Regions from separate parts of the Homo sapiens genome. Here all the other regions are linked to region 7. Evidence: promoter capture Hi-C in human tissues and cell types (Jung and others, 2019). All regions are on one chromosome and are shown on one strand. The core of a region is centred on a gene start or on the middle of the fragment in contact, and the rest is flanking DNA. Distances in the headings are between cores, read along the strand shown. Region 1 has its middle 100 kb from the start of LINC00494. Region 2 has its middle 140 kb from the start of LINC01522. Region 3 has its middle 160 kb from the start of LINC01522. Region 4 has its middle 120 kb from the start of LINC00494. Region 5 has its middle 140 kb from the start of LINC00494. Region 6 has its middle 120 kb from the start of LINC01522. Region 7 holds the start of SULF2 (sulfatase 2).

The links. The method cuts DNA at HindIII sites, captures the fragments that hold promoters and counts their contacts. A contact is called where the count stands out against the background at its distance.
Region 1: a contact is called between a fragment that was not itself captured here and the fragment with the promoter of SULF2 in region 7, in 8 of the 25 tissues and cell types used here (H1 embryonic stem cells, bladder, dorsolateral prefrontal cortex and 5 more).
Region 2: a contact is called between a fragment that was not itself captured here and the fragment with the promoter of SULF2 in region 7, in 2 of the 25 tissues and cell types used here (H1 embryonic stem cells and dorsolateral prefrontal cortex).
Region 3: a fragment that was not itself captured here is called in contact with the fragment with the promoter of SULF2 in region 7 in 6 of the 25 tissues and cell types used here (H1 embryonic stem cells, heart left ventricle, liver and 3 more).
Region 4: a fragment that was not itself captured here is called in contact with the fragment with the promoter of SULF2 in region 7 in 7 of the 25 tissues and cell types used here (bladder, dorsolateral prefrontal cortex, heart right ventricle and 4 more).
Region 5: a contact is called between a fragment that was not itself captured here and the fragment with the promoter of SULF2 in region 7, in 8 of the 25 tissues and cell types used here (H1 embryonic stem cells, adrenal gland, dorsolateral prefrontal cortex and 5 more).
Region 6: a contact is called between a fragment that was not itself captured here and the fragment with the promoter of SULF2 in region 7, in 8 of the 25 tissues and cell types used here (H1 embryonic stem cells, dorsolateral prefrontal cortex, heart left ventricle and 5 more).

The regions. Positions count from the first base shown.
Region 1 is chr20:48,257,655-48,260,747 of GRCh38, forward strand. No RefSeq gene overlaps it. Among named protein-coding and RNA genes, the nearest start is that of LINC00494, 100 kb to the right of the region's middle. RefSeq lists an enhancer at 2,431-2,931. The HindIII fragment of the contact is 6,360 bases long and covers 1-3,093 here.
Region 2 is chr20:48,126,946-48,129,733 of GRCh38, forward strand. No RefSeq gene overlaps it. Among named protein-coding and RNA genes, the nearest start is that of LINC01522, 140 kb to the left of the region's middle. The HindIII fragment of the contact is 6,415 bases long and covers 1-2,788 here.
Region 3 is chr20:48,143,718-48,146,806 of GRCh38, forward strand. No RefSeq gene overlaps it. Among named protein-coding and RNA genes, the nearest start is that of LINC01522, 160 kb to the left of the region's middle. The HindIII fragment of the contact is 6,424 bases long and covers 1-3,089 here.
Region 4 is chr20:48,235,650-48,238,468 of GRCh38, forward strand. No RefSeq gene overlaps it. Among named protein-coding and RNA genes, the nearest start is that of LINC00494, 120 kb to the right of the region's middle. The HindIII fragment of the contact is 4,304 bases long and covers 1-2,819 here.
Region 5 is chr20:48,219,266-48,221,968 of GRCh38, forward strand. No RefSeq gene overlaps it. Among named protein-coding and RNA genes, the nearest start is that of LINC00494, 140 kb to the right of the region's middle. The HindIII fragment of the contact is 4,439 bases long and covers 1-2,703 here.
Region 6 is chr20:48,104,700-48,107,529 of GRCh38, forward strand. No RefSeq gene overlaps it. Among named protein-coding and RNA genes, the nearest start is that of LINC01522, 120 kb to the left of the region's middle. The HindIII fragment of the contact is 5,044 bases long and covers 1-2,830 here.
Region 7 is chr20:47,783,758-47,786,730 of GRCh38, forward strand. It overlaps SULF2 (sulfatase 2), which reads right to left and starts at 1,724. Exons shown (of 21, transcript NM_001387048.1): 1 at 1,586-1,724. LOC124904920 (a long non-coding RNA gene) reads left to right here and starts at 1,997. Exons shown (of 2, transcript XR_007067618.1): 1 at 1,997-2,405; 2 at 2,648-2,973. RefSeq lists an enhancer at 2,842-2,973. The HindIII fragment of the contact is 5,454 bases long and covers 96-2,973 here.

The DNA.
Region 1 (3,093 bases), core at 217-2,716, 470 kb after region 7:
TGCTGCACACAGCAACCAAAATGAACATCAAGGGAATGATGCTTACTAGAAGAATAAGCCAACACCAAAATGTTACATGCTGTATGATTCCCTTTATATAACATTTTTGAAATTTAAAAAATTCTAGAGATGGAGATCAGTTAGAGGTTGCAGGGGGTTAGGGACTGGCTAGTGTGGTCCTAGAGGGAGGCAGAGGGACCCTTGAAGTGACGGGACAGTTCTGTAGCTTGACTATGGTGGTGGTTACTCAAAACCGCATATGTGATAAAATTGCATAACTGGTGAAATCTACATAAGCTCTGTGGATTGCACCTATGTCAATTTCCAGCTTGTCATATTGTACTTTAGTGATGCAAGATGTGATGATTGGGGGAGGCTGGGTGAAGGGTACATAGGACCTCCTTAAACAGTTCCTTGCCACTCTCTGTGGATCTAAGTTATTTCACAGTAAAAAAAAAAATTTAAAAAGCCAAAACAAAACAATATTGCTAATTTCCAACCACAAAATATTCCTTTTAAACTACCCCTGGCCCCATCTTCTCTCTCTGTCTCTGTTTCTCCATCTCTCTCTTTTCAGGCCACTGTGAAGACCTATTTGCACCAACCTGGAACTTTCATTTTTACCTTTTTTTTTGAGACGGAGTCTTGCTTTGTCACCCAAGCTGGAGTGCAGTGGTGCCATCTTGGCTCACTGCAACCTCTACCTCCCAGGTTCAAGTGATTCTCCTGCCTCAGCCTCCTGAGTAGCTGGGATTACAGGCACACACCGCTAAGCCTGGCTAATTTTTGTATTTTAGTAGAGATGGGGTTTTACCATGTTGGCCAGACTGGTCTAGAACTCCTGACCTCAGGTGATCGGACTCCCAAATTGCTGGGATTACAAGAGTGAGCCACTAAGCCTGGCCCAACCTGGATCTTTCTATCTGAGGTTCTGGGAGGGCTGGCAGAAAGTGGAAAAGGGGATAACTTTTTAGTGCCTGATTTGGTGGTATTTCATGTGAACTACCTTAATCATGGAGCCGATTCTCTAATCCTTCTGTTTATCAGTGGCCCCTGCCCCATCCTTTGGGAAACGTTCCAGGATGTTTGGCACTTAACACTGGGTACAAACTCCCCACCCAACAGCAGCCGTTCCTGGTGCCTTCAAACAAAAGGACATGGAATGGGGTAATATTATTTGGATAATTTTCAAAAATGCCCTACAAACGATAAGTGGATCAACAGATAGATTCCAAGCATCATGGGTATCCCTTTGGGTTGGCAATTGCAGCTGCGCATTAACCAGGTCCTTGGGATGATGGTTGAATGTGAGTTGTATCCTGGGCAGATAGACTCACAGATGTGCACACAAATGCACACACACAGGACACACATATGGACGCTTTGTGCTCCTCCAAGCTGGGCATTTTACAGTCAATTCATGGATCAGTCAATACATTTGGAAACTTAGTAGGTTATTAGAGTTTCAGAAAAAGTCTCAAGTTCAAATAAAATGTGTGTATGTGTTTGTGTGTGCATCTACTCACAGTCTTATCCACCCAAATCTCAGGTGCAGCAGTGGTGCCAACATCATGACTTTATGTACATAAACTTGGCCAGGGAAGGAAGGGACCTTAATGTGCAAATGTCCCACGTGCCATCGGTCAAGCCCACCACCTTCACCTTTCAAGTTTCTTATTAGAACTCTAGACTACACGCCTGACAGGCTGTCAGGTTGAGTTTCCTCTTCTGTATGACATGGGACAAGCAAAGTGGGGAGAACATCTTCTACAGGGTGAAATGTCTTCATCCTGTCTTCCTCACCCCCTTTGCCACTTAATGATTAGCTTTAATCTAACTAGAACCTTTTGGGGTTTCTGTAATGGGAGGCAGAGGTGCAGTAAGAAATCCCCTTTACTACCCAGTGAAATACAGGGGCGTCTCCAAGGGAAGCCCGTCTCACCTGCTTCCTGTCTCCCGCCGAGAACCTGCTCCAGCACAGCCTCCCAGTCTCTGCCCCAAAGGTGAGGGTGGGCCCTGTGGGAAAGAGACAGGGGACAGATGGAGGGGCAAGAGGGCAGGGGTCCCAACCTGCACAGAGGAGCAAACCTGCACCAGATTGAAACGTAAGCTGAATGTAATTACTTGGTTAATTAAATACTGACTTTTAACTCAAAAAGTGATTAAAACAAGCTGCAGAAAGACTGTCCAGAAGCGGGGCAGGGAATGAATCAAAGCTTTCAAGAAGAGGGAGGAGGAAGAGAGGGTTGTCACAGGCAGGTCTGGCTTGCTCTTCCTACTGTGTACTGGGCCTACTGCATGCAGGGGGTGTGGTCTTTGGTCTCTGAGCAGGTGAGGAATTTTGGACTGAGGCCAACATGCAAAGTAGGATTTCAGACTTCTTATATCTTTCCACTTCAGACCCCATCTCTTTTCCCAGTTGTCTGAGAGTACCAGGAGCTGCTGGTGCCTAGGAACCGGGTCCTGTTCATCCACGTTTCCTTGGAACAGAATGCAGTACCCGGCACGAGGAGGTGCTCCAGAAATGCTTGCAGAACAAATGAACAAATGACTACACAGTAGTATTATGCACATGTGTGTTCCGATGAGCACGTGTGCGCGTGTGTGTGTGTTCACTGTAGGCAGGAGCTGTGGGTCATGTGTTGTAGGCTGGTCTTAACTCACCAGCTCAGACACCCATGATGTCAGAGGATCTGTAAAACTCCCTGAGCCGTGTTTCCTCCCCATAATTCCCAGCAAACTCCCTGGTCCTCTGTATTCAAGGCCTCAGCCTGTTTTCCAGGTCCTTCTAGGCAGCTGGGGATGGCTGGCCCCATTCCAGAGCTCGGTGTCTGCCTGGGAGACTTAGGACCTTTAGAGCCTCAGATGTCCCCAGCCTGGGAAGTCACTCAGCCATGACTCAGCCGGGCCTGGATGGGGCTCAGCAGAATCCTCAGGACCCCCACGGCCTCCCAATGCTCCAGTCCCTGCCACCTCCACCCACAGCCTTTCTCCTCCCGTGTCCTTCGTCACCCATGACATCATCTTGTGCGATCATCCTGGCTGCACAATCAAGCCTTTCAAGCTCCTCACGCCACCCCAACTCTCTCCTTA
Region 2 (2,788 bases), core at 82-2,581, 340 kb after region 7:
TTTTACTATGATTTTATCTCACAGCTCTAGAAACGATCTTTCACTTTGCCTGTGCAGAAGTCTTGTGAACATTCAAACTAGAATTTACTTGGTTGAGATTCTAGAATACACGTTATCCCCAGATGTTCCTGCCCTCCTTAAAATCTTCTAACATGTTCCCCTCACCCGAGCATAAATGCCAGGTCCTATCCACAGCCCACAGTGCCCAGCACGGCCCTGCCCTCTGCCCTGACCTTATGGTCTCCCCTCTGCTGTTACTTTCCTCCCAGACAGGCCTCTGTCACTTCCTGAAACCACACAGGCTCAGGCCTGACTCCGGGCCTTTGCCCCTGCTGTGCCCCCTGCGTGGAGCGCCTTTGCCCGGCTCCCCATCCTCCTCTCCACCCGCTCAGCTCCAGCCTGCTGGCTGCCCCTCAGTCCCCGCCCCTCAGCGGGGAGGACATCCAGAACACACGATGTCCTCCCCGCTAGGCCTTTGCACATGCTGTTCTCTGTGCCTGAAACCCCTCCCCCCTCACCATCTGCGTTCACTTTTCTAATTTCCATTCATCCTTGGAGTCTCCACTGAAATATCGCCCCCCCGCCTGCCCCCACCACTTGGACTTAACCTTGCTTAGGTTGAAAACCCCCATCTCCTGAGTCCAGGAAGCTAGATGCTGTCCTGGCACTTGGAACTTTCCCATCACAGCGTTTTGCGCACTCGTAATTTATTCTATTAGGTTGGTGCAGAAGTCATCGCAGTTTTTGTCATTACTTTCAATGAACTGCAGCGCCGGCTCCTCCCCACTTTTGATTGCCATTACCTTTACTGGCAAAAAAGTGCTGGAATTACTGCTGCACCAACCTAATAGAATAATTTATATTTATTGATCCATCATATGTCTTCCCCTCTAGAAAATAAGCTCCATAAGAATAGTGACCAAATCTACTCCAATCACTCCAGCTTCCTTGCACATTGTCAATAATTATTTACCGACTGACTGATAGAGAAATATCTTCATTGTTGCTGGGATGAGCCACATAACATGACACGCCCCTTTGAAAGTCAATGTCATGGACAGTTAGCATTTGCTTTTCACTCCTGCACCCGTGGCTTGGCTGGGCTTAGGCTGATCTAGTCTGGGCTTGACTCCAGGCTGAGGGTTGGAACCCTGCGTGCTCCACATGCCTCTCATCCTGCAGCTGGAGCCAAAGTTCCCTGGGGCACGCTCGTCTCGTGGGAAAAATCAAGAGCATTAGAGGGCAGGCCTGGCAGTGCCGACACATTCCAGGCTTCTGCCTGTGCCGTGTCTACGAACATCTCATTGGCATAAGCAATTCACCCAGACACGAGCAATACCTCCATCTCAAAAGATAGGAAAAGAAAATACCAGTGTTTTTAGGAAAGAAAATACCAGTGTTTTTAGGAAAAGACTGGGGGGTGGGGTGCAGATCTGGGCATTACGTATTCCAATTTCCTATTGTAGAAAATGGGAGCTAATCAAAGGCTTGGCTTCAATGCTTCCAGTTTAGGATCAAAGCCAAAACAACGAAATAGGGGCAATTCAAAGGAACACCCTCTTTACACCTGTTATTTTTATAAGAAATGAAAACCTTTCTTAGGAGACCTGTCACAATCCTCTTCGGTCTTTTGGGCCAGAATGAGTCATAGGGAAGTCCTCACTGTAAAGGGAGCTGGGAAGTATCTGGCAAAGGTGACTGGCATAGCCAAGGCTGGTTTTGACCAATTGTGATCCATTTCCATTTTGCCTAGAAAAAAATCCTGTTAGCAAGTAGGGTGGGGACAGCTGTTGGGTGAGCAAACATCAGCACCTCCTACTTTATCTTCTTCCACCGCCAGCATCCAATCCAGGGGACAGCCTGTTGTTCCCTCCCTCAGATGCCTCCTCTATTGGTCAGCTTGTTTTCTTCCTATGCCTGGTACCTTCATTGGCATTGCACCTTCTCTAGCCTGGACCATAATTGCCCTTAATACCCTACCTCCTGTCCTTTCTCTTTCAAAAGACTGACAGATACCTGATCTCTCAAGTACAATTCTAACTTGATTACTCCAGCACCCAACTATCTTTGATAACTCTGTCTCATCTGCCAAGTTATATACAAACCTTCTCAGGGTGAAAACCAAGGCCTTCCATAATATGATCATTGGTAAGGGAGAAAAAAAAAAAAAACAGTCCTGTTTGCATCTAGACTATGGAGGGAACTGAGAAACACAACCCTCCAGGCCATGATGCTCCTGAGTCGACATGAACCACACTCAAAGAATATGAACTCGTTCAGACAAGGCCACAAGTTGACTGTGTTTAGAGGTAGGCAGGGATAAGACCACTCTGCAGCCACAGAAATGACTGAACATGCCCCTTTTCTAACATGAGTGACAGCTGCCTCTTTACCAGTGACAACTCTAGCCTGCTTCAAGCTTCCCACTCCTGAGATAAAGTATTTAAGATACGCAATCACCAAGTTGCCCTCACTTCTTGACCTTGCCTCCTTAATCCCTTTTTGGAACCATTCTGTAGAAGCCTAGGTCCTCTAAAAAGCACTGCCCCTTCCCCCTTACTGAGATGCCCCCAGGTGGCCATGGGCGTGGGAATCTCCCTGACTGCAGCAAGCTAAATAAACTGACTGTGACTGCAGGGAAGTTCCTGGCAGTCTTAGGTGGGTGGGCTTTAACATCATGATCTAACTTTACAACTTTACAACTGTTCCCCAATAGCTTCTTTATAGTTCAGACTTTTTTTTTTTTTTCACAATCACACTTAATTCTGAACAAGTTGCTGGATCCAGC
Region 3 (3,089 bases), core at 20-2,519, 360 kb after region 7:
ATGTATGTAAATAATCCAGCCAGGGCATGCCCCTCTTTGGGCACCTGCCGGTGGGAGGGGGTGGTGGCAGATGGAGCTGCGATTCTGTCATTGTGTCTCCGTTGCCAAGGGCCACTCAAATATGTTCATTTAGCCATATTGAGGATGATCCTGGGGTATGAACATCTTCAGCTGTTTCTACATCTGATGTTGGCCTTGATTAGTAATTTTAGATCCCGAGCCAACATCAGGTGCTACCCTACCGTTTTTCAAAGAGATGGAGGCTGCTGATGCCATGTCTCCAGAGCAGAGCAGGGTGGCAACTGGTTGGCTGGAACCTGCGGGCCCATCATGGGTAAGAGGAAATGAAAATTCTGGAAAGGTGAATAAATTGTAAGCAAGCACCTCACGGCTTACATAACGTAATTGAAATTTCCAGAAGCAGATGGATGATGCCCTAGATCCAAAGGCACAGTAACTAGATGGTTTTATGACAAGGGCAGCTCATCAAATGTCAGGGACGTTCTGATGCAGAATTGCAGATGTCAGGGCTAGCGGGGCAGTTGGACGATGGGGACTCTAACACCTCTTCCAACTCATTGCTTTTCATTAAGTTATTAGATATGAAAAAAAATACTTCTAGTCCAGACTGTCATTTGACCTTTCAGTGGGCCCCTGACTACGTCTCTGACTACGTTTTTAAACTGATGGTCAGCAAATGCATCCCAGGTATGCGTCCTGGGAGGAAACAGTGGGTAATCTGTGCCACACTGCATTTAACTCACCAACAAATTCCACCTCACATTGAGGGGGATGATGAGATGCAGAGATGGGCTTGACACAGGGCAGGAATTCAGCTAGTCTTTGGGCTCCTTAGAGGGAGGCCTTGGGCACTGAATGCCATGATGTCTAAAAGCCCAGAAAGCTTGGAAAACCTATAGAAAGAATGTGAGAATGATTCGAACGGCCTTCCCAGGCATAAAACAGGGGGGAGATACTGCTCATTCAAGTGGCCCCTGCAAGCTTCCTCAGTGTCCTTGAGGAATCATTGGCTAAAGAGCCTTGGCTACCCAGTGGTTAGGAGGATCTATGGTTATGGGCTGGAGCCAGGCTGCCTGGGAGTTAGATGCAGCAACCTCACATGGTGCTGTGCAACACTGAGCAGGTTAATTAATCTCTCTGGTTTTGTTTGTTTGTTTTGTTTGTGTGTGTGTGTGTGTGTGTGTGTATACAAAATGGAATTATCATGAAGATAAATATTAAGTTCAGCTATATGAAATTGCTATTCCCCACAGGAAATTGTCAACCATAGGCAATTTCATATGATTCAACCTAATATTCCATAGGGAATGAAGTTAACAGTTGAAAAGTTCTGACCAAAGTGCCTAGCACTGAATAAGCCCCAGGTAAATGTTAGTATCTTACTTACAAAAGTTTAGGGAAATGTACAGCATCTTCTCTATGTGTTTGTGTGGTGTGCTTCACACTAGTGATCTTCAAACTCTATCACAACCTATCTCTATTAGTCAGGGTTCCCTAAAGGGACAGAACTATTAGGATATATGTATGTATGAAGGGGAGTTTATCGGGAGAATTGATTCACAAGAGCGCAAGGTGAAGTCCCACAATAGGCCATCTGCAAGCTGAGGGACAAGGAAGCCAGTCTGAGTCCCAAAAGCTCAAAAGTAGGGGAGCCAACAGTGCAGCCTTCAGTCTGTGGCCCGAGAGTCCCTGGCAAACCACTGGTATAAGTTCAAGAGTCCAAAAGCTGAAGAACTTGGAGTCTGATGTTCGAGGGCAGGAAGCATCTAGCACAGCAGAAAGGTGGAGGCCAGAACACTCTGCCAGTCTACTCCTTCCATGCTCCTCTGCCTGCTTTTATTCTAGCCGTGCTGGCAGCTGATTAGATGGTGCCCACCCAGATTGAGGGTGGGTCTGCCTCTCCCAGTCCACTGCCTCAAATGTTAATCTCCTTTGGCAACATCCTCACAGACACACCCAGGAACAATATTTTGCATCCTTCAATCCAATCGAGTTAACACTTATTAACCATCACACCATCAGAGGGTTGTGAGCTGTTAATAGGTTAAGAAACAAAATCAGTGGGTCAGAATTTTTCCCAACAGGACGGAATAGGGGAGAAGACAATAGGATATTTTACACATCATAAAATAAATATTGCTTTAAGAGGCTTGTCAATTCCATCACGTGTGTGTGTCTGTCCACATGTGCGTGTGTCTATGCACGAGTGTGTACCGGATCACAGTGAAAGATACATTTCATGCTACGCATTAGAGTTGAATAAAGTTTTAAAGTCAGCTCACTCGACCATATATACTGGACCTTATGAGTACTTAAGGGAATTTTTAAGAGTAATTTTGACTGTGCCACTCACTAATCTGTGGTCTTGAGCAAGTTACTGGGCCTCTCTGTGTCTCAGTTTCTTCATCTAGAAAGCAGTGAAGACCCTTGCACCTGCCTCCCAGGACTGAGGTGAGAAAAGCAGGTAAGAGGCTTGGCGTATTTCCTGGCATGTAATGAAGAGCCCAGAAGGTGCTAGCTGCTGCTGTTTTGCTTGTTCTTTAATTTCCATGGCACGAATGACATTGCAGAAGGTGAGGCTCTACTGCTAAAGGAAGAAATTGATTTATCCCTGATTTGGGGGAAAGCTCACAAGGCAGAACATTCTTCGATAAAATAACCTAAGAATATCAAACAGCAAACAATTACCCACATGTAAACAATTACACTGCACTAAGTAACTCTGTTATAGAAAGATGGCATCACTGTAGGGAGAGATCAATCCAAGAGGACTTCCTGGAGGAGGAAGTTCTCAGCTGATCTCAAAAAAGATTCAGGGGTGGGATTGGAGGAAGGCTGGGTCAAGGACATCTGGGGAGAAAAAAGGATTGTGGAAAGTTCAAGATGTGATCGGTAAATCATGCACAAATGCCAGGATCAAGAGCTGGACCCACCTCCTGGAGAGGGACCACGGTCAGACAATGCTCTCTGGGGTTCACAGGCAAGGGACAAATCAGACATCACGAGAGCTCACTGTTGATGGCATATTATGATCATGTCAGGGCCGGGCATCTGCCTAAGTACTACAA
Region 4 (2,819 bases), core at 189-2,688, 450 kb after region 7:
GCAACAATATAAGCAGTGTGGCTTTTGGGAGGAGATTAAGTCATGAGGGCTCCCCGCTCATGAATGGAATAAGCACCCTTATAAAAGGGCTCGCAATTGAAGGGGGCATTCTCGTGTCTTTCATTGAGGACACAGTGTTCCTACTCTCTGGGCCAGCCAGACGGCAACAAGGCACCATCTTGGAAGCAGAGAGATGCCTTGAGCAGACACCAGCGCTGCAGTGCCTTGACCTTGGACTTCTCAGCCTCCAGAACTGTGAGAAATACATTTCTATTGTTTATAAATTACCCAGTCTGTGGTATGCTGTCCTAGCTGCACAGGCGGACTAAGATACTAGCCTACGGTGAATGCTCAGAAATACTTGTTGCAGGCATGAATCCGGGACATAGCAAGGACACTGTTTACAATGAGGAAGAAAGACAAAGGAGAGGAAATGAGAACCCAGCCTCACTCCTTCTTCAAAAATTGTCTCAGTAGTAAAAAGGATGAAAGCTGGCTCTCCACTCAACCTGTCAGACCTCTCTTCAGAAATGCAGGGGAAGCTGCCACCTGGTGAATAATTCACCTGCAGTCAGCAGCCCCAAATGCTGCATTGGCAAAAAGCAAACAGCCTGCAGAACTGTTTCTTATTTTTAATCTGCTCAGAACCAGGGTCTTGAAGCATTTGCTTTTCCATCCTACTAATTTTGGAGGCAATTAGCTGTTGGGTGTTCTTGCCGTCGGCTCCCCTCTGTGTGTATGTCCTTGTTAGGTGTGCTCACCCTGCCCAAACACACCAGCTGTGAAGCGCTTTGTTAATTTACTCTTAAACTACCATTTTAACAAGCTTCTTAAGTGATAGAGGCATTTGTGCATAAATAGCAAGTGGTAAGCTTCCCCCTGGAACATTAACCTGATTTATTAAAAACACTGTGACTACCAAGCTTTATACATCAACATCTTTAACACAAAAAAATATATGATCTCATCTCCTCCCACAGCCCCAGCCCTAATGTAGACAGAGAGCTCTGATGGGAGGTGAGAACCTGGAAGATGTCACTGTGAAAGGCGAAAGAAGCCAGTTTTTTAATATTTCAAATGCAGCCGAGCCAGCCAACCAAAACGTGTTTTCTCCGACATTAGCCTGGGGACAAGTGGAAAAAAACAGACACAATTTCTTTCCATGACCAAACCTTCCCACCTAGCTGGGCCAAGGATGAGGTCACCCTAACACCTCTCTCTGTGACTCTGATGGGCTGGGGGGATGGGCTGAGAGTGGGGGAACACCCCAACGAACTTAAATTTCAATGCCCAAACCGCACCCCACCACCTGCCAGAAACTCAGCATTTCCTAAGCACCCTCCATGCACACACTCCTCATGAATGTTGTTTTGGGTCATCTCACTGCACCACCTGTACAATTATTTCACTAATGTTATTTTTAAATGGATCACTTTAAAAATTTTAGCCTCAAACCAAACAATATTGTCTGTGAAATTGTAGATTTCATGCATTAGTTATATATGGTGTTTCTTTAAAACTTTAAAGATGAAATAGTGAAATAGATAATGCACTCTGGTGTACCATGTACTATTGGTGTGACACATAACACACCAGGGAAATGCTGAATTAATTCCATATTCCAAAGTTCAGAGCAAACAATGTTTCCTGGGACTTAGACGGTGTCTAATACTTTGAAGATTCAAAGTTAAGCTTAGTTTTCCAGTCCAGAGGCTTCTGTGCAAGAGACTACATCCATCAGCCAGCAGCAGACGCACACTGCATCTGACCGAATACCTGCTTCCCTTCTCCTGAGAAGTACAGGAGCACCGTGTGGGGTGGATAATGAAGGAGATGATGTCCTGGTGTGTGTGTGTGTGTGTGTGTGTGTGTGTGTGTGTGTGTGTGGTTTAGTTATAGGTGAATAATTAGATTACGTGATTTCAGGAACTCTTTGGGAAATAGAAGAAGGGTGGCACAGTGAGAAGAATGAAGCTGGGGTCAGTAAATGCAGGGTCTTGACTTCAGTCTGTGTCTAACCATTGCCATCTCTTGCCTGGACTATTGTAGTCTCCTAACTGGTCTTCCAGCTTCACCCTCGGCCACCACCCTGTGTTCTCCATTCAGAGCCAGGGTGGGCCTTTCAGCCCAAGTCAGCTCATCACATTCCATCACTCAGAGTCCTCTAGGGACCCACCCTCTCATGCAAAATAAAAGCCAAAGTCTTCCCCATGGCCTGCAAGGCCCTCCATGGCCTGACCCCTCATCCTCTCTTCAACCTCCACCCCTGCCACTCCCCACCTCACTCCCCTGCTGCAGCCACATGGGCCTCTGTGCTGCTCCCCCAGCCCCTTGAGAACCCTCCTGCCTCAGGGTCTTTGCACTTGCGGGTCCCTCTGCCAAGGCTGCTCTTCCCCAGATATCTGCCTGGCTCATCCTCTCACTCCAGGCTCTGCAGATGTCACCTCCTCCAAGAGGCCCTCTCTGGTGCCACCTTCTAAAGAGCACCCTGTTGCTGCGTAATGACTCAGTTTACCCTATGCTTTTTCTCAATATGCATATATATGTCTAATATCTATGCGTCATTGAGTAAATGAGGGGAAAATGTTCTCAGAGGATGCAGAAGAACCTGAGCATGATACTGGCCTGTGTTAGCGGTGGGTGGGGAATGAAGCGCTTTGTGTTATTTAAATCTTTAAAGAACAACTGTATTACTCATGTAATGAAGAATATTGGGGGACGAGTCAGAGAGGGGAAAGAAAACAGCCTAGAAACAAGTAAATCTGGGTAAGAACCAAGATGAGCAAGGACTTCCTCCCTCCTCCATGCCTCACCCCCGA
Region 5 (2,703 bases), core at 76-2,575, 440 kb after region 7:
GAGTTCCCAGGACCGGGCTGGGAAGACAGGGGTTATTGTGTGTCCTGCTCACTCTGGACACTGAGCACACGGAGCTGGGGCTGGTCTACCGTGGGTGCTGGCTACATATTTAGGTTTGAAAGGGTCTAAAAGAGATAAACAGCAGCTGAGGACAGGTACCAGGATTGGGTGCAGGGGAGCTGTTGGAGCTGAGACATGAAGGATGAGACACAGCCACCAGAAGAAGATGTGGGAAACAGCGAGTGCCTAGGTCTCGGGGCAGGAGTGAGCAAGGGGAGCTGGAAGAACAGCAAGGAGGCCCCTGTGGTTGAGGGAGCCAGGGGAGAGTCTGAGAGGCTGCCAGGGGCCAGGTTATGCAAGATATTGGAAGCCATGAAAGGGAGCTTGGATTTTCTTCCAAGGGCAATAGGGAGCCATTGAGAATTTCCGAGCAGGAGGATCACATGATTTGATTTACATTTTTAAACGCTCATTTCAGCTGCCGGGATGAGCATGGATGGAGGGAAGCCTGATTGGACAGCAGAGACCACGGATGAAGCTGCTGTGACTATCCAGGAGGCCAAGATGGATGAGGGGCTCTGTCCAGTGAGGCATCTGGGGGGCTCAGGCACACTTTGGAGATAGGCTCGGCATTCCTGCTTGGCTGGATGGACTCTACGTTAAGGCTTAGGAACAGAGCCCCTGCTGACACTGAGGTATAGCCATGTCTGGTAATTCTCTTGTTCCTGGGACATATTCACTGAGCGACCTCACAGGAAGGAGAGGTGGTTGGACCTGTGCCCTCTCCAAAATGCCACCACGACACAGTCCTAATGGCCCCTAAACTCCAGACTTCCCAGATGCATCCAATGGGGTATTTGCCCCTGGGCCTTCCCGTGGGGTCTCCCTTCTCCTTCTCTGAGGAAGCTTCCACCTGGAGTTTGCAGAGGGCCATAAAGCTCATGTTTATTCTGCTGATTTATATAAATGACTTTCCTTTCACAAGCACGCCCATCAGCACTGAGCATGTCCACATTAATTGGGCTGGAGGAGGAAAATTAAGTGCTTCAATTTGCCATTTTTCAAGATGAAAAATGGGAAAGGAGAAAATCACTCAAGTGAGAGGGAAGGAGCTGTGAGTGTTGAAACCCACTTCGAGGAGAGGCAGAGGCTGCGCTGAGGGGAACAGACTCCTGTAGGGAGCAGCCCTGGACGAAGGAAGGAGGTGATGAGGTCAGAGCCCACAGCAGCCCCAGCAGCCCTTCATGGACCTCAAGTGTTTAAACATAGTAAAGCACATTTGCTCCTGGCTGTCCTGTAGGGTAGCATTTCCTGAACCCTGAGTCAGATGGGGTCCTAAAGTTGCAAGGACAGAAAATCCAACCCCAACAGACTTAAGCAAAAAGGGAATAGATAGCTTTGGGAGGCCGAGGAGGGTGGATCACTTGAGGTTAGGAGTTCAAGACCAGCTTGGTCAATGTGGCAAAACCCTGTCTCTACCAAAAATACAAAAATTAGCTTGGCATGGTGGTGTGCAGCTGTAATCCCAGCTACTCGGGAGGCCAAGGCAGGAGAATCGCTTGAACCTAGGGGTGGGGGCTGCAATGAGCCAAGATCATGTCATTGCACTCCAGCCTGGGTTACAGAGTGAGACTCCATCTCAAAAAAAAAAAAAAAAAAAAAAAAAGGAAAAGGAATAATGGACTCAAAGAACTGAAAAGCTTTGAGGGTTAGTCCAGTGTCAGGTAGAGCTTGATCTAGGGACCCAGACACTTTCTCCCACCCCTCCAGGGCTGCTGTCTCCTCTTCCTTTGCTTGTGGAGAGATTCCACCTACCAGCTCAGCAGCCCCAGGGAAAGACCTTCTCTTCCTGGCGGCCCCTGAGGACTTCGCAGGATTCACCTGATTGGACGCGACTTGCCATGTGTCCATCTCTGATCTAAACACTGGGGTCAAGGTGGCAGGATTTGCTCACAGCCAGGGCCACTCCCTCAGGTGACTTGGTACGAGTAAGAAAGGGATGCCCCTTCCTTTCAGGAGAAGCAGCCTGTGCCAGGACATAAGTCTGTACCTGGTGATTCTGAATATGCCAGTTCACAGACCTGGATCTTGTCCCTTGCATGGAGCTGGGTGTGGGGCCCACCCACCTACAGCACATGAACCAAGAGTGGAGGATGGAGGTTTCCCAAAGGACAATCAAGGTGCTGTGCCCAGGAGGCAGAGCTCATTCATTCATTGCCTGTTTAGAAAATGCTTACTATGTGCAGTGAAGAAAGAGCTTAGAGCCTCGTTTGGGGATTGTCTTCATCTGTTTTCTGCTGTTATTACAGAATACTACAGATTGGGTGATTTAATAGAAAAGAGGCCAGGCACAGTAGCTCATACCTGTAGTTCCAGCATGTTGTGGAGCGGACACAGGTGGATCACTTGAGCTCAGAACTTTGAGACCAACCTGGGCAACATGGAAAAACCCTTTCTCTACAAAAAAAAAAAAAAAAAAAAAAAAATTAGCTGGGTGTGGTGGCATGTGCCTGTAGTCCGAGCTACTCGGAAGGCTGAGATGGGAGGATTGCCTGAGCCTAGGAGGTTGAGGCTGCAGTGAGCCGAGATCATGCCACTGCACTCCAGCCTGGGCAACAGAGCAAGACCCTGTCTCAAGAAGAAAAAAAAGAAAAAAGAAAAGAGATGTATTTGGCTCACAGATCACCACTCTGGAGGCTGGGA
Region 6 (2,830 bases), core at 149-2,648, 320 kb after region 7:
GTAGGAAGGCATTCTCAGGAACCCTCCTGCAGCTTTCTATTTACATCTTATTAGCTGGAACTGGGCCATGTGACCACTGTTAGCTGCAAGGGAGGCTGGGAAAGTGAATGCCTTAGCTGGGCACTTTGCCACCTCGAACAAAGCCAGAGTCCTTTGGTTAGAAGAAAGAAGAGGATACTGGGCAACTAGCAGTGTCTGCCACACCTTTCTTTAAGGATCAACTCACACTGCACACCACTGCATCCTTCCCTCTTTATCCCTAGGGCATAGGCTGCCTGTCCCCTTCTGAGAAACTAAAGTGAAAAAGGAAGAGAAGAAAAGAATCTAATGAAATGATTTACCTATTTCAGCTCGAAACCCTGCCATGGTGCTGCAGACAGAGTATCTTGGTAGGTCAGGGAAATTGAGGCTCAGAGGGCAGTACTGACTTGCCAAGGTCATGGTTAACTATGAGACTCAGCAGGAATGTGAATCTGGGTTTGTTCCACTTGCCTGCCCTCTCCTCTACACCGTGCTCCCATGGAAGCCCCAGGTAGCCTGAGTAAGTGGTCACTGAATGCTCATGGAAAGTTCTCCTGTTAACTGGGAGGGAGATAACTCATCTCTCCCAGTTATACCGTACAGTCCTCAAGGTCAGAACTGATGCCTGTGCTCCCACTACAAGGTCGAGAAGCCTGTCAAGGGCCCATCACAATTGCCTCCTAGCAGAGGACAGGCCAGGCCATTGTGGACTGTAGTTGACATGAGCACAATTTGCAGATTCTTTTTGACTCTAAAAACCCAAGAACATTGCTTCTGACTGTGGCGAGAACATTAAGCTTTCAAATAGGCACCGCGCTACGACAGAAGCTAATGCAAGCCTTGATCATTTTTCTCTTTCCTTTCCCTCCTCTGAGTTCTGCTGGGAGCCGGTTCGAGGGAAGTTGGCTAATTGGAACTGTCCACACTGCCCCCATGAGAAATGGGATGTTGTACACCATGTTCCCTGGAGAAAATCTCCCATCTGTTCACCGCATGAGAATAATTACATGTATAAATTACCGCCTTCTCATCCCTCTCCGGCTTGTGTTGGAGAGGGGGTGTGCTTATGATGGAGGTTCCTGAGTGACCTTTTTGATGAGGGAATGTGACGAAGTCAGCTCCTAAATCAGCCATCTGCCTGAGCACGACTGTGGTATTGATTTTCTATTCTAGGGCTGGAAAACGGACATTTATTTTGAAATATGTTTAGTAATGAATCTGTGATTTGCGAAGGGTGCTTCTGCAACGATTCCTGCTGAACTTGATGTGACTTCCAGCAACAGAGAAAGTCACTGGGTTTAATTTTACCCTTTATTACTAAAAGGAGAGACTCCAGGCCGAGCAGCTTGAGAAAACGCACCAGGTACTTTCCACAGCAGTCATGACACTGCCTCTCATGGAGAACCTCCCTCTAAATACCTCAACTGCAAAATATATTACACAACATTTTCTGGAACTGAAAAGCCCTGGCCTGGGAGACAGGGTTTGTTGGGGGGCAGGGATCTAATCACCATCAATGACCAGCGATAGCACCGCAGGCAATTCCTTGCCTCTTCCAGGGCCTCAGCGTTCACACTGCAGGATGGAAGAGGCTATTCAGTTTCAATGACCTCCATGGTAAACAGAATAATAACTGCCCCACAAGACGGTCTCATCTGTATCCTTGGAACCTGTGGATATTCCAGGTTACATGGCAAACAGGAGGTAACGTTGTAGATGGAATTCAGGTGGTGTATCAGCTAGCTTTAAAATAGGGAGATGATTGTGGATTATCTGGGTGGGACCGAGGTAATCACGAGAGTCCTTATAAATAGATAAGGGAGGTAGCACCAGAGAGCTGGCACCATGAGAAGAACTTGTCCTGACATGACTGACATATGGAGGGAGGGGGCCATGAGCCAAGGAATGTGGGTGGCTCCTAGAAGCTGAGCTAGGCAGGGAAACACATTCTTCCTTAGAGCCTCTGGAAGGAATGCAGCCCTGCTAACCCTTCCATTTTAGCCCAGTGAGGCCCATCTCAGACTTCTGAACCCCAGAATTATGAGGTAATACCTTGATGTTGTTTAAACCACAAAGTTAGTGGTGATTTGTGACAGCAGCAATAGAAGCTTTATGCAACCCGTGCTCCTCTAGTCCTGGAATTTGCTGATTGCTCTCCACCCATCTGCAGCGAACCCTTCTCACTCCCCTGCTCAATTCTCCCTGATTGAGAATTCCCGTCTTTTGTCTCTCCAGCCAGACTCAAATTTCCAGGAGGACATAGATGCTCCTCTTTGGTATCCGTGCAGTGCATCCTACAAAGTGCTTGTTCAGGCTCCACAGGGCAAGGTCCAGAATTGCTGGAAGTGGCGCGGCCATGTCATCCCTGGAAGTGACGATGAAAGCCAGTCCTTTTAAGGTGCTCACAACCTGCCAGGCGCAGATAGAGGAGCTCCCCAGCCATCATCTCACTGCATCTTTAGAGAAACCTGGAAGTAGAATTATTAGTGTCATCACCACTTGACAAATTAGGCCACTGAGGCACAAAGGAAGTGAATAAGCTGCCTGGGTCACAGAGCTGGGCAATGTGGTGGCCAGGTTTCTACTCTCTTGGGTCATCAGCCCATTGGTTTCATTCTCTGTCACAGACAATGGAAGTTGTCTCTGTCTTACGTAAGGTCCTGGGCAAATGTGGCATCCAGTTAAGGGGACCACAAGTTCCAGTTTACCTGAGACAGTCCCTGTGTTCTAGAATAATTATTAATAGTACCTCCCCATTCATACTCAAAGGGGGTCTAGTTTGGGAACTGTGAATCGTATAGTCAGCCTA
Region 7 (2,973 bases), core at 474-2,973:
CTTCATGTACAAAGGTCCAACATGCCATCTGCCAAGCCCACCACCTTCGCCTTTCAAGCTGCTTATTAGAACGCTAAATTACACATCCGACAGGCTGTCTGGATGAGTTTTCTCTTCTCTATGATGTGGGAGAGACGAAGCTGGGGAGAACATCTCTTACAGGGAAGGGGCCCCCTTCGTTCTGTCCTCCCTACCCCGTTCCTATACTTAACGATTGGCTCTAATTTAATTAGAACCCTCTGGTGGTTCTGTAATGGGAGGCAGAGGCTGTCAAGAAATCACCTTCACTATTCACTACAAGCTGAAATTTGGAGAGCGCGCAGATCCGGGGGTGTCCTCCAGAGAAAGCCCGTCTCTCCTGCTCCCTGTCTCCCCCTGAGAACCTGCTCCAGCGCAGCCTCCCCTTCTCTGCCCCAAAAGTGGGGGTGGACCCGGTGGGAAACAGGCAGGGGACAGATGGAGGGGCGAGAGGGCGGGTGTCCCAACACGCACAGATGAGCAAATACCCAGATTGAAACGTAAGCTGAATGTAATTACTTGGTTAATTAAATATTGACTTTTAACTCAAAAAGTGATTAAAACAAGCTGCAGGAAGACTTTCCAGAAAGGGGGGCAGGGAATGAATCAAAGCTTTCAAGGGGGAGGAGGAGGAGGAGAGGGTCGTCACAGGCAGGTCTGGCTTGCTCTTCCTACTGTGTGCTGGGCCTACTGCGTGCAGGTGGGGGAGTTGCGGACCGAGGCCAGTGTGCAAACTAGGATTGCAGGCTTCCCTTTCCATCTTCCACCCCGAGACGGCATCTCTCTACCCTGCTGCCCTCCCAGTGAACCGGCAGCTTCTGGCGCGCAGGAGCCAGATCCTGTTCAGCCGCGTTTCCCTGGAACAGAACGCGGTGCCCGGCACGAGGGGGTGCTCCAGAAATGCTTGTAGAACGAATGAACGAACTACTATAAGGAATGTTTGGAAAAGTGCACTCCTAGAATTCACCGCTAGACTTCTGAAACCCCGAGGAGCCGGGGAGGGGAGCATCCCTCCGCCAGGCGATGGAAACTCGTTCTGCCCTGGCCTGGGAGGAAGTCTGCCTTTTCGATCCTGTTTGTCCTTTCGGTGTCTGCGAGTTTCCAACCACTCTGAAGATCCGGCCCACTGCTTCCCCGAGTCCTGCCCGGACAAGCCCCACGTGGGCTGGCATCTACCGGTCCCTTGGGTCTAAACCCTAAGGGTCAACAAGGCCATGCCCCTGCGGATGGCCGGCCCAGGCGCGCTCCCCTACCCGGGGCCGCCTGTGCTCGGTGTGCCGTGTCCGCGGGTCAGGGGCGCGGCGGGAAGTCCTCGCCCGCCCGCCAGCCAGCGGGGTCAAACAGGTCATCCCTCTGCGGACGGCCGGCGCCGGAGCCTCCCTCCCGCCCGCCCGGACCCACCTCCGCAAGCAGCGCTGGGGCTGGAGCCGGGCGGTCCGGACCAGCCCCGGCTCACCTGGGCGGCGCTCGCGGCCGGGCTCACGCCGGGGAAGGCTCCGGCCGCCGCGAGCCCCCGCCCGAGCCCCGCGTCCCCCAGCCACCCACCTGCCCCCCACGCCCCACTCACCAGCGCGCACGGCCCCGGCAACCTCACCCGGAGCGGGGCGCCGCCGCCGCCTCTGCCGCAGCCCGGCCGGGCCGCTGGGCGCAGGGGACTCCGCGCCGCCGCTGCCGCTGCCGCCGCCGCCGCCGCCGCTGCCGCTGCTGCATCCCCCGGCGAGCGCTGCTGCTCCTCCTCCTGCCTCCTCCCCGCCCCCCAACGCCGCCGCCACCGCCCCCGGCCCCCTCCCCGCGCGCCGCCCCAGCCAAAGTCCGGCTCCGCACCCCGCCCGGACCGCTCTTAAATCGCCCCAGCCCGGCCGGCCACGCTGCCCCAGCCAGCCCCTTGGCACGGCGCTACCGCCCCCCGCTCGCCTGCCCGCCGGCCTCCACGCAGGGGAGGCGGGCGCGCTCCGGGGCGGGGAGCGTCGGGCCGGGAGCCGCGGACGGCTGGGGCCCGGGGCGCGGGGGGCCCAGCCGCGGTGCCCTCCTCGAGCCCTCCGCGCGCTAGCGCTTTTACCTCCGGCCTGGGGGACGCGCGGCCCGCGACCCGGCCCTGCCTGTCCCCGGCGCACGGCCCCGGCCCCGGCCCCGAAGTCCAGCTCCGGACGGGGCAGTGAACGCAGAGCTGGGGTCCCGGCGGCTCTCGACCTCCCGATGCCTCCGGACTCGGCTGGCCGCGCTCCCGGCGCCGAGCGCGCACCCTCGCCGGGACACACAGACGCACACTCACTCGACACACTCTCGCTCCTGCTCGCCCTCGGCGGAGAGTTGAAACAGATGTGGGATTCGCCCAGGAGCTGGAAACGAGGGAGGGAAGCGAGCCAGAGCCTTGTGTGCACGTGTGTGTGCGTAACACACAAACCAGGGGGCATCGCTAATAAATCAAATATCGTGATAAATTCAGGAGGGCCATCGATCAGGTCCACTTGGCTGGAAACGACGTGAATCTGCCTCTTTTCCGCTTTCTTCTTCTCCTCTCTCGGAGCTGGAGGGAGCCAAATGTTCCGCGGGGAGTGCGACAGCCCCGGCCGGGCGCTCCCCTCGTAATGACACGTTAATAAATGTTTTCTTTTATCTGCTTTCACAGGACTCGCCCCGGTCTGCAAACACTCGACTGCCTTTGCCGAAAGCCTCGCGCTCGCCTCCAGCCACACACATTTGCCATTGGAGAGGCCGGCGCCGGCCGCGACCCGCAGCTCAATCGCAGGGCAAACCGAGCTGCCTGTGCGCGCCCGAGAACTCCCCGAGAAATTAACTTCGGCTCAAGTGAAAATAGCAGCTGTTGTCCAGAAATGGCCCGGGAGTAGCATAGAAAGGAGAAACCGGCTTCCTCCGAAAGGGGAGGAATTGGACTCAAGGGGGTGCTGTCTACCGTGGTTTCCGCTGTCCCTCGCGCCACAGAAGAGGCCGGAG